3 separate regions of the Homo sapiens genome follow, and all the other regions are linked to region 3. Evidence: promoter capture Hi-C in human tissues and cell types (Jung and others, 2019). All regions are on one chromosome and are shown on one strand. Each heading gives the region's core, a stretch centred on a gene start or on the middle of the fragment in contact. The rest is flanking DNA. Distances are from core to core; before and after follow the strand shown. Region 1 overlaps MAP2 (microtubule associated protein 2). Region 2 overlaps MAP2 (microtubule associated protein 2). Region 3 holds the start of MAP2 (microtubule associated protein 2).

Region 1 (3,485 bases), core at 546-3,045, 280 kb after region 3:
CGGGGTTTCACCATCTTGGCCAGGCTGGTTTTGAACTCCTGACCTCGTGATCCACCTGCCTCAGCCTCCCAAAGTGCTGGGATTACAGGCATGAGCCACTGCACCCGGCCTGCTATCTACTTATTACTCTTCTTCAAATACATATTTTTTCCTAAGTTTATAAAACTGGTAAAACAAAGGAATGAAACTTGTTGGAAACCATCATAAAAACCCCTACAAATATCTGTAATGCCAACTTTTTTCTAAATTTCAGGGCAAAGTATTTATTTTATATGTTTAATTATACTAGGATAATCTTACCTTACACTATATTTTATTTTAGCATTTATTAAGTGGCATGCTTGTAGTCTACAAAATGACAGATTGCTAAATCAGAAAAGAATGTTTTTCTTTCCATTGTACATCATCAATGCCTCTATATAAATCTTCGGATGGTTTTAAAGGTTAAGAGGAACATTAGCCTTTGTGAGAAAGAGAAAATCAAGGTAACTGATGGTTTTATTTTAGCCATTGAAAATTCCAAGTATTTTGTATTTGTGTTCTTCATCTAGAAATCATATCATGTGCTTTCCTTCAAAAACAAGAATCTAAGGCAGGATTTGAAAATAGAAGGCTTGTATATACGCACACCTTGATAAAGCTTCAGGATGAAGAATATATCTGAAGCTAGGAGTTAGGAATTAACGTGACATACCTCAATTCATTTTCTCAGGTTTTTAGCTTCATTAAACTTAGAACTTCATTAAACTTAATAGCAAATTAATAGCTTCATTAAACTTAGTAGCAAAATTGCTTGGGCAAGCAGAATCTCTTGATTTAGCATAAAAACTCTATAACCTACCTAAAAGGATGAAAGATGTCATCAGGATTGTGGAATTTTAGAGAAAACGTAAAATGGTTTAGTAAAGTGTTTACATGTCATTGGTATTCAATTTGCCACATTTAAAGTAAATTGTGTTTTTATTCATTCTTTGAAAGAAATTTAAAATCTTTGAACTAATGAAGATTTTCCTTTATTCTGGTCTAATGTTAAGATACTTTAGGAGAAAGCATGTATCAGATGTAGGTGTCATTGGTTTGAAGCAAGCTATACATGTCACAAGAATTTGAGTTATATTACAGAGATAGTAGTAAGGCATCGTTTTCACTGCTTCCTTAAAAACAATGAGTCCTAGAATCTGAAAAATCTCACTAGCTAGTCCTACATGGCATAAAGCATATTGTAGACAGTTATTATGTTTGTGTCAGAACTGTACCTGTCATAAAAATACCTTTTTAGAACTTATTCAGAGGGCTTATAAGGATACATTTTTTTTCTGAGGGTTTCTATTTTATGAATGAAAATTAAGGAGGAATAAACACACAAGCTTGATTATTTTATCTTCTAAGCCCAATTTTCAAACATAGATGGTTTTCCAAACCACAAGGGATTGTTTTAAATCATGAGAGCTAAGCTACCTCAGGTAAGTCATCAACCAAAATGTGCTAGAGATAATGGAGTTTAAAATTGAATCCAGAAGCATAAAACAGCAGCAAGAGAAACAACAGTAACAGATGTGGTAATAATTTCATACAGGAAGTGCATGTGTAGAACATGTTCTGTATTTACTGAACTTAAATTTTCTCTCGTGTTTTCTGTTCTTGACAAGCTATTTTTCTTCCCTTCTCATGTGGCATTTTCACATCAAACAAGTATGTCATTCATATTGTGAAATGAAGGGATACAAAGGGAAAGGGGTTAGCTGATCATGACAGTTTGAAATGTAAAATACCGAAATATCTATGGTTATGCCAGTGGCTTCCAGAACAAGAAGAGGGTTTGGAAATCTCTATGAACCCTCTTCTATATATCATGTGAACCCCAGAAACCAATCAGTGTTCTTTTTCTTAAATTTTGCAACATTCACATTGCTATTCTGTAACTTCTGTTCTAAAGGATCTCCTTACGTACTAGTGATTCAAAGATACATTGGTAATCAATAGAAAAATTACGTGGTGTGCTTACCTGCACTTTGGTAGACAATGGGTTATATTAATTAGCACACACTATTTGTTGGAGCCACATGCTATGTTATTGTTATTCATGTTACTTGAGTTATTGAATTTGAGTCTCATAATAAGCAAACTTTTGCTTTGCATTAGTCTGTTGACACAACAGAATATCCTACAGGTATTTAAAACTGCATTTATGACTTTTTAGCAACTAAGTTTGGGGTTGTTTGTCTTTTATTTTCAACAGCAGCAGGTGGGGAATCAGCTCTGGCTCCCAGTGTATTTAAACAGGCAAAGGACAAAGTCTCTGTGAGTAAAATAAGTTTTTCCTTGTTCTTCATTTGAAGTTCCTTTGGTATTAGCTGTAACATCAGAATAACTTTTGATATTGTTTAGATATTTACTCTTAAAAGTCACTTTAAATAGTTCGCTCACCCAGAAGATTCTCCGTGGCATCCAGGCATGGAAGGATGAACGTCTTCTGGGATGGCGTATGATGGTAATTGGTGAGGGCACAGCTGGACTGCTTCCTTACTAGTAAGACAAAAACATAGAAAGCAGCACAATGATATGGCAAAAGTAAGGAAGTCCAGTTTAGTTACTTTTCATAGAATCAAATTAAACCATATAATCAACAGTAACTGTATTTTATAATACACTTTCATTGTTTTTGTTACAAAATAGAAATATGACCAAATGAAGCACTGCACACAAGCAGAAAGAAGTAGAAATCAATTATAATCCTCTTATCATAAAGATAAACACAGCTATCATTTTGATGTAAAATCCTAATTTTTTTCTATACATTTATAGGCTTAACAACAAAAATGAGAACACTGTGTATCACTTTTTAAATTCAACAGTAAATGTACTTCCATGTCGTTGAACATTTTGTAAGTTTTAATGACTACGTAATACTGCATTTTATTTCTTTGCAATGATATACTTAATCAATTTCCTATTATTTGACTTTTAGAATTTTTTGTTGGTATTTTAACAATATTACTGTAGAGAACTTTTTGGCTAAGTTCAGTTTGTATGCTATTTCCTTCATTTTCTACTAGTGAAATTATTGTTTCAAGAAAAATGTTAATATTTAAAGTTTTTGCTGCATATTGTCAAATTGCCCTCTGGAAAGGTTCTACCCACTTATACATTCTGTATAAGGAGAGTGTTCATATTTGTTATTATTACTACATATTTTATATTGTTGTTGTATATTTGCCAAATTATAGAGATGGCATATATTATTATTTTAAAATTTTATTTTGGTTGTATTAATGGTGTTTAACTTCTTCATATGTTTGTAAATCTTTTCTATTTTTTCTGTGAATTTTATTTTTATATTATTAACTGTATTTTAATGACCAAAGCCAACATGAAGTATTTTCACTCCTTTATGATTGAAAGAAAAAAATTAAAAGGCTACTAATGAAATCCTAAAATTATAACAAATAATTTGAATGATATTAATTAGTAGCTTATAACAACAT
Region 2 (3,890 bases), core at 718-3,217, 260 kb after region 3:
GACACATTAATGAGATTAATGATGGAATTTTAGCAGGCATCTCTAATCTGTTTTTCTAGAGATGATAAAATCATTTTTTTTTGAAAATATCAAATGCTTGTCTTATTTTTTAGGTTTTCAAAAATGCATGAATCAGGTAATGGGCCTATAAATAAACCAAATGCGGCTTACTATTGAATCTTTTTCTGAATTTTATAGAGAGGTCTTTTTACAAATGGCAGAACTTCCTACACATCTACCAGCCTAAAAGGATTAATTATTGCATCTCATTTTTCTATTGTTTGATCTTTAGCAGCTGAAGAAACAGCTAATCTGCCTCCTTCTCCACCCCCATCACCTGCCTCAGAACAGACTGTCACAGTGGAGGAAGGTAAGGCCTATTGGACTTTTCAGGGTTTGTCTTCTGTTAAAGTGTGAACAATAAACTTCAATCAATAAGCTCTGGACTTTGGTATTGGTTAGTATGTGACCAAGCTTTGGAGCTATCTGTTTCAAATAATGAAGAAGAAACAAAGACTTTAAATAAATAATCACTTATTTTTATAAAAGCAAAAGTAGAGGAATTTGGTAAATAAAAAAGAAATCTGCTTGATTAAGGAAAAGAATTTTGTGTTCAGTTGCTAAAATAACTGTAGAGACCCCATTCACTTTAGAATGCTTTAACAGGGAAGATACAATTCTACCTTGTAAGTGACTGAACAAAAATTAAAATAAATATAAATGTAATCTCCATAATAGTAGGGGTCAGATTTATCAATGAAATCAACACTTCCTTATGAAAGTGTCAGGAATTATCTCTGTTTTGCTCACTGTTATATTGCCAAGACCTTCCCCAGGGCCTGACTCATAGCAAATTTAATAAATATTAATGAATAAATGAAGAAGTTAATGAATGAATCTGATATTGAGAGCATTGAACTGGAAGCTGAGCTCATGACTCTTTCCTGTTGAGACCTGTTATTGTCCATGGATCTTTTTATGAACTTACTCAACATGGAATGTCATGTTAGCTTTTCAATTCTCATTGATACAACAGAAAGATGCCTTTGAAGAATTTTCATTCAGAATCTGAGATGAAAGGCACTACTTAAAAGGAAACCATTACTGGTTCTCCGACTTAGTCCAGTTAACCTTTGTTTATTGTTTGAGAGTCACAGGAAAAGGCAGAGAAGAACTAGGGCTCCATTGTTGTTTCAACATTACTTAGTTTTCATATATTAAAACCAGAATTTTAAAAGTGTTTATTTTATTCATTTATTCATTTATTTTTCCTTTTTACTGTGTTAAAGACTGAAGAACATTTATTTTAAAAGACTTGTCTTTTTATCATTTGTAATTAGGTTCATTTAAAATATTCTTTGATTTCGTAAATACAAAAATTTGAATTAGTGAACCATATATTATCACCTCTAATATAATTTTATTTTGTCACAGATTTATAAACCTAAATTTATTTTAGCAAGGTTTTTCTTTCTTAAATTGAAGCTTTTTTTTTCCAATTTACTGCCTGAAATAATAAACAAACTAAATTTTTCTGAGGAATAAAAGAAACTTTGGGGATAATAATCAGTGCATAGCAGCCACTGATTATTAGTTAATGTGATTTAATCTTTTAATTTATAGGTTTGAAAAGTTCCTTTTGACCTTATGTTTATCCATTCACTGGGCACATATTTATTGAGCCCTACAGTCTTCCAGGTACTCTTCAAATTCTGAGTATATACTAGTGAACAAAACAGACATGATCCCTGCTTTTAAAGAGTACACTATAGCCGGTAATCCCAGCACTTTGGGAGGCCGAGGCGGGCAGATCACTTGAGGTCAGGAGTTCAAGATCAGCCTGGCCAACATGGTGAAAACCCGTCTCTACTAAAAATACAAAAATTAGCCAGGCATGGTGGCGTACGCCTATAATCCCAGCTACTCGGGAGGCTGAGGCAGGAGAATCACTTGAACCCAGAAGGCGGAGGTTGCAGCGAGCCAAGATGGCACCATTACACTGTAGCCTGGTGACATAGCGAGACTCCATCTCAAAATAAATAAATAAATAGTACACTATCTAGTGGAGAACAGAAATCCAATAAATAAGCTTACCAATAATTTCAAATTGGATTAGCATTGAAGAGGAAAAGAATAGGGAGCTTTAAAATATTACAAGAGAAACCTGATTTTATTGGGTGGTGAGGGGATGGCTAAGTAGCTGAGACCAGAAGCATGAGGAGGAAGTGTTGGCCAAATAAAGATAGAAAAAAGCACAAGGGCGCTCAGGTGCCCAAGAAGATGAAGTGACCCAGGAACTGAAGGGGGTCCGTGGCTGATGGGTAGTGAGAAAGGGTAGAGCAGTGGAGTGTGAGAGTAAGCAGTGGTCAGCTGGGGTCAGTGGCCTAGATTTCATTCTGAATGCAGCGGGAAGCCTGACATGACCCTTGTACCTCCTTCAGGCCATGGAAAATGTTTCTAAGCTCCTACTTAAAGCTTTTCAAGCATCAGAGAATCCTCTTAACCCAGAGAGGGATATGATGTTGACAGAGCAGGTTTACTCCAAAAGTCGGCTTGAGGTCAAGTCATTTAATCTTCTTACTCTATATGGGATTTGGAACAGAAAGGGAAGAAGCAGAGTCCTCCCATCCATCTGGGAATTCACCCAGCCTGCTTCCTGTAGGGTAATATGATGGATATAATGAAAACATAAATAAATAAAATGTAGAATCACCTTCACATTTTGGTAACTTAGGTGTCAACTTTCCAGAGTTCCCTAATATTTTGGAATTACTTTCTTCAAGCTGTTTCAAGATATTCAAGGAAAATACCACCTAACCTCTTATTGAAAGTAATTCAAAGTTATTTTCAAGCCAAACTTGTGTTTTTAACTTTTTGAGTATTGAACTATCTGAAGTTCTGATTATTTGATTTTAAAAGTATAACCATTTTTTGAGTTTTAAGAAAAACAGATGTATATATTTTATAAACTCTATCTCTATAAAGACCAGATAATATTCTCACCTTAAATATGTAAAAGATTTGTGGTCTAGACAAACTACTGTTTCTCTTTTATGTTAAGCCACACTTAAGTAATATACAAGTATTTTTTAAGTTTAGTTTTGTCAGAAAATAAATTAGTGACAAGTCACAAGACAGGATTGAACTGTTCAATTTTTCAAACCAAGTAGTTTGTAAATACTCAGCCCAAATTCCATCAATATATTGCTTATAGCAGGTCAGGTGGAAAGGGAGCAGGTGGATTTTTTTGCCTTATCTAGGGGATTATTTACCCTCCTTGATACCCTCAAAGCAACTTTAATCTGAGGGTATAGTGACTGCTGCAGTCTGATCCTTTTATACAAATGGAAGAAAGCTCTTTTGTTAGATTAATTCAGCGATTTTGAGGATACATTTTCTTTTTGTTAATTATCAAACTTTTTAAAGCTGTTCTTTCCCAAAGGGGAAGCATGAAAGCTTCCACTAAAAATTTAAGATGTTAATTACTATAATTTATGAATATTTATTATAATTAATGTAATATTAGTAATTCCCAGGATATGTGCTTATTCTAGAAAACATTTACAAGGGATTTTGATGAAAAAAAAGGAAACAAGCTGCACACTTAGAAAAGGATCTACGGTACAGTAAACCAAACCTGTACTGATTATGATGTTTTCAAATTAACCTCCTTTTTCTTTTTGGCCTAATCATAATAGTTGTCATTTGGACTGAGCTATTAGAATTTGGAAGGCTGTGAAGGAATGGAATAATCTGAACACAGAACCAGGATTCTTTCTGCCCTTTTAGGTTTGCTCCAGAATTCTAGGGTGGTGTTTTCCTGTGTCATGGATGTGGTGACCTAATCATCGCGCATCTGAAAGTAGTTTTCTCTTTATGTCATTCTGGGG
Region 3 (3,419 bases), core at 384-2,883:
ATGAATGTCAGCTGCTAACACTCTGGTAGCATGCCTACTCCTTCCTCCCATCCACATACTGTCTATGATTTCCTAGTCTCCTAAGACCTCCTTCTCAGTAAGGCCATCTTCCGAGGAGGAGCATCAACTCCTCCAACCTCCCAGCTCCTGGGTGTGCCTTGATACTTCCAAACTCACTGCAAGCGTCACTGGCACATGGTATGAAGCAGAGCGGGGGAGGCAGGACACAGAGCACTGGGTGTGACTGGGGAGGGCAGGCTTTCACAGCTTCCTCTGTGATGGTTTCTAATCCTTGCAGGCTCCCACCATTGGGTCTCTTTCCATCTGAAAATGGAGGAAATTAGACCAGCTGCCTAAAACATCAACTCTAATGTTCTAGGTTCTAAGATTCTGTGGTTAATTTAAGTGACAGAACCACATTATGGCTGCTGTTTCATCAGCACTGTGAAGACTGTACAAGCCACACCTCAGTATGTTGGCTGACCTTAAAAACACCTTGTCAGTACTTGATATAGACACTCGAAGTAATTCTAAGTTGCATCTTACTTTTCTTACTTACAATAAAATGCTGCTCTCTGATTATGAAGATTCATACTCCTTAGTACGAATGGTAAAGAATCATTTGTTTTCTCAGGTGGTCATTTCACTTTCAAAAGCATTTAAGAGGCAATTTTTTTAAGGGTGATATTTCAAGGTCAACACTTTCCGTGCTTTCTAATTCATTGTATTTGTATCATTCTTCAAAGATCCTTCATATTCATTATCTTTTTAAGCATAAGAGAATTGGGCTGTCATTTTTAGTTCTCATATGACACATGAATACACTGAGAGTTAGATTAAGTGAACTGTCTCTAGAGCATACGTCTGGCTATCTAGAATGTAATAACTATAAAGGGAGGGGATCTTTCTTATTAGGGTTGTGGGAAAGGTCTGTCACTGATGTTTCTAATGCTTAGAAGAGTGCCTGACACATAGTAGGTGTCAATAAACATTCGTTGACTCAATAAATGAATGAATCTAATTCGTGACAGAGCTGGGTCTAGAATTCTCTACTCCCTCAGCCATTGCTCCTTTAGTGCTGACAAGAGTTGTTCTATGTTCTCAAGCGCCCCACATTCCTTTGTCTTTTCTGGATGCACCTGTGGTTGGGTTTGTGAGGCGAGGCCAGTGAGCTTTCCTGGTGAGGTGCCACTGGCAACCCCGCCTCATAGCGACACAGGGGAGGGAAGCAGGGGGTCTGCGGAGGTTGCTCCCGAGAGACTAAAGCTGTTGCCCCCGATTTTCCAAGGACGCCAGTGAGGAAGGCCCGCCTGTCCCGCCGCCCGGGCACTGGCCTCACTTTGTCGCGGGAGGGGACCAGGGCTCTGGAGAAGGCCCGGGCCAGCGGCTGGGCGGGGCTCTCCGAGGCTCCCACCTCGCGGTCCCCGCCTGGCGGCCGGCGGCTGCGGCAGAAGGCGAAGCGGTCGTGCTCCCCCTCCCGGACACTGCGGCGGTGGCAGCGCCAGCCCCGCCGCGGCCGCCCACGGGCTCGCGGAGTCTGGCGGGACCTGCGCGGGGCGGGACCTGCGCGGGGCGGGGAGGAGGGGCCGAGGCGGAGCTGCTGCGCTGGGAGCCGGCTGGGGGCGCCGCTCTCAGTCTGGGGCGGGCGCTCGGGCTGCGCGGGCTCTGGGCAGCAGCAGCAGCAGCAGCAGCATCCTCTCTTCCTTTACTTCCCTTCCGCTTCTTTCTCTTCCTTCTCCTTCTTTTTCCCCCCCCTCCCCTTCTTCCCCTAACCCTTCTACCCCTCTCCTTTTTCTCCGGAGGGCGCTAAGTCCGTGAGCGGTGGCAGTCGCGACCGCGGGTGCATCCAGTTTCTGCGCCCAGGTAAGAGACCGTCCCCACCTCTGGCTCTATGTAGGGCGCCTCTCCTTTTGCCTCGGTCTCTGAGTAGAAAGAGATAGGAATGGGGAGGGGTTGTGTCTCGTCCTCTGGGACTCGCAGCAGGCAGTCTGGTAGTTGGTCGAGTGGCCAGCCGTGCACCTGGCGGAAGATTCGGGCCTGTCCTCTCCAGGTGTCACTGCGGAGCAGGGGGCCGGACGCTACTGGTACCTGAGCCCTGGCTTCGTAGAAGAGCGAGTGAGCTTGTTAGGTACCACTTTGAAACAACTGAAAACTTACGCCAGGTTAGAATACGTGTATCGAAAGCCAGTATTACCTGCGCTGTGGAAAGAAGGGGAGTGGATTCTACAAAGATAGTGGAAAATAGGAAATCGAGGTAGGGGATTTTTTTGTTCATCCAGCTGCAGAGAACTGCACACTGGGAAGTGAGTGAGTGAGGGAAGCCTTGTCCATTTCAAATCATGTTTCTCTGTAATTCCTTCAGAAACAGCTGGGAGAGGAGGACTGATATTTATAATTGTAGGAAAATGAAAAATAAATGCCTGGTGGTGTTGGAGGGCGGGGCACGAAGAAATGAGTCTGGTTAGGCTTCCACACAGTCGTTTTTCTTTTTAAACGTTGGGGGTGGACCTCTGAATCTACAGTGCATCTATTCTTTTCTTCCTTTTCTTTTTAAAAGGCTTTTTTGGTGGGGAGAGGAGGACTGCAGTGCTGGCTGCCTGCCTTCCCCCACCTCGTCTTTTGTTTAAGGATGGAAATTTCAAGAAAGAGTGTGTGGGGGGCTAGGAGTGGGGAGCTGTATATTTGGGTGTGTATAGGGGGAGGGGTATGGATGGAGTCAGAAAAAAAATCCTTGAAAACTGGAAATTAATGTTATTCTGCCTGGCATCCGGACTTCAGGATTTTTGTCAGAAAATAAAAAGCTTTCATTAGCAACAAGCCCGTTTGTGACAATTGCTGTGTGCCATCTGTCGTAAGCTCTTAGCACAATGCTTCCAGGACATAGACGCTTTAAAATTGAGTCCGGTGTAAAGGGTTTTTGTTTAAATGCCTAAACACACAAGTATGCACACAAATGTATAATACACTATATACATGTTACAAAAGGAAATAGGTACTTAAGAGACTGATTTTTTAAAATTGTATTTGAGGGTTTGGAAATTATGTTGTGAATAAAATCTGTAGTGCAAAACAAAAAAATATTGTTGGGTGGTATATAATTTTGGGTGTGAGGCAAAGGGATTGATGACTGTTGGTAAGGAACTAATTTAAATGTTAAAGGTATAATTTATTTTAAAATGATCAGTCTAGAAAAGGAAATGATTGCAAACTGAAATTGAGGTTTGCAGCCACAGTGAGGCGATGGAGAACAAAGCCTTCTATGTGAGCCACATTATGCAAAATGTCCCATGCATGAGCTGCAGGTACCAGCCCAGTTCAAAAGCATAGTTCTTTCACTATGTCATTTCACTGTGGACAATTATGATTTTTTTTGGCAGTCAAATAGATTGAATAAATAGAAGCCCTTTAGAATGCTTTTA

What was found. Contacts are between HindIII fragments. The study calls those that stand out against the background at their distance.
Region 1: a contact is called between a fragment that was not itself captured here and the fragment with the promoter of MAP2 in region 3, in 1 of the 25 tissues and cell types used here (hippocampus).
Region 2: a fragment that was not itself captured here is called in contact with the fragment with the promoter of MAP2 in region 3 in 1 of the 25 tissues and cell types used here (hippocampus).

The regions. Positions count from the first base shown.
Region 1 is chr2:209,698,038-209,701,522 of GRCh38, forward strand. MAP2 (microtubule associated protein 2) reads left to right here. Exons shown (of 16, transcript NM_001375505.1): 11 at 2,240-2,301. Among named protein-coding and RNA genes, the nearest start is that of UNC80, 72 kb to the right of the region's middle. The HindIII fragment of the contact is 5,822 bases long and covers 1-3,485 here.
Region 2 is chr2:209,680,458-209,684,347 of GRCh38, forward strand. It overlaps MAP2 (microtubule associated protein 2), which reads left to right. Exons shown (of 16, transcript NM_001375505.1): 7 at 293-370. Among named protein-coding and RNA genes, the nearest start is that of UNC80, 89 kb to the right of the region's middle. The HindIII fragment of the contact is 3,730 bases long and covers 103-3,832 here.
Region 3 is chr2:209,422,414-209,425,832 of GRCh38, forward strand. MAP2 (microtubule associated protein 2) reads left to right here and starts at 1,634. Exons shown (of 16, transcript NM_001375505.1): 1 at 1,634-1,863. RefSeq lists a silencer at 1,315-1,704. The HindIII fragment of the contact is 7,301 bases long and covers 1-3,419 here.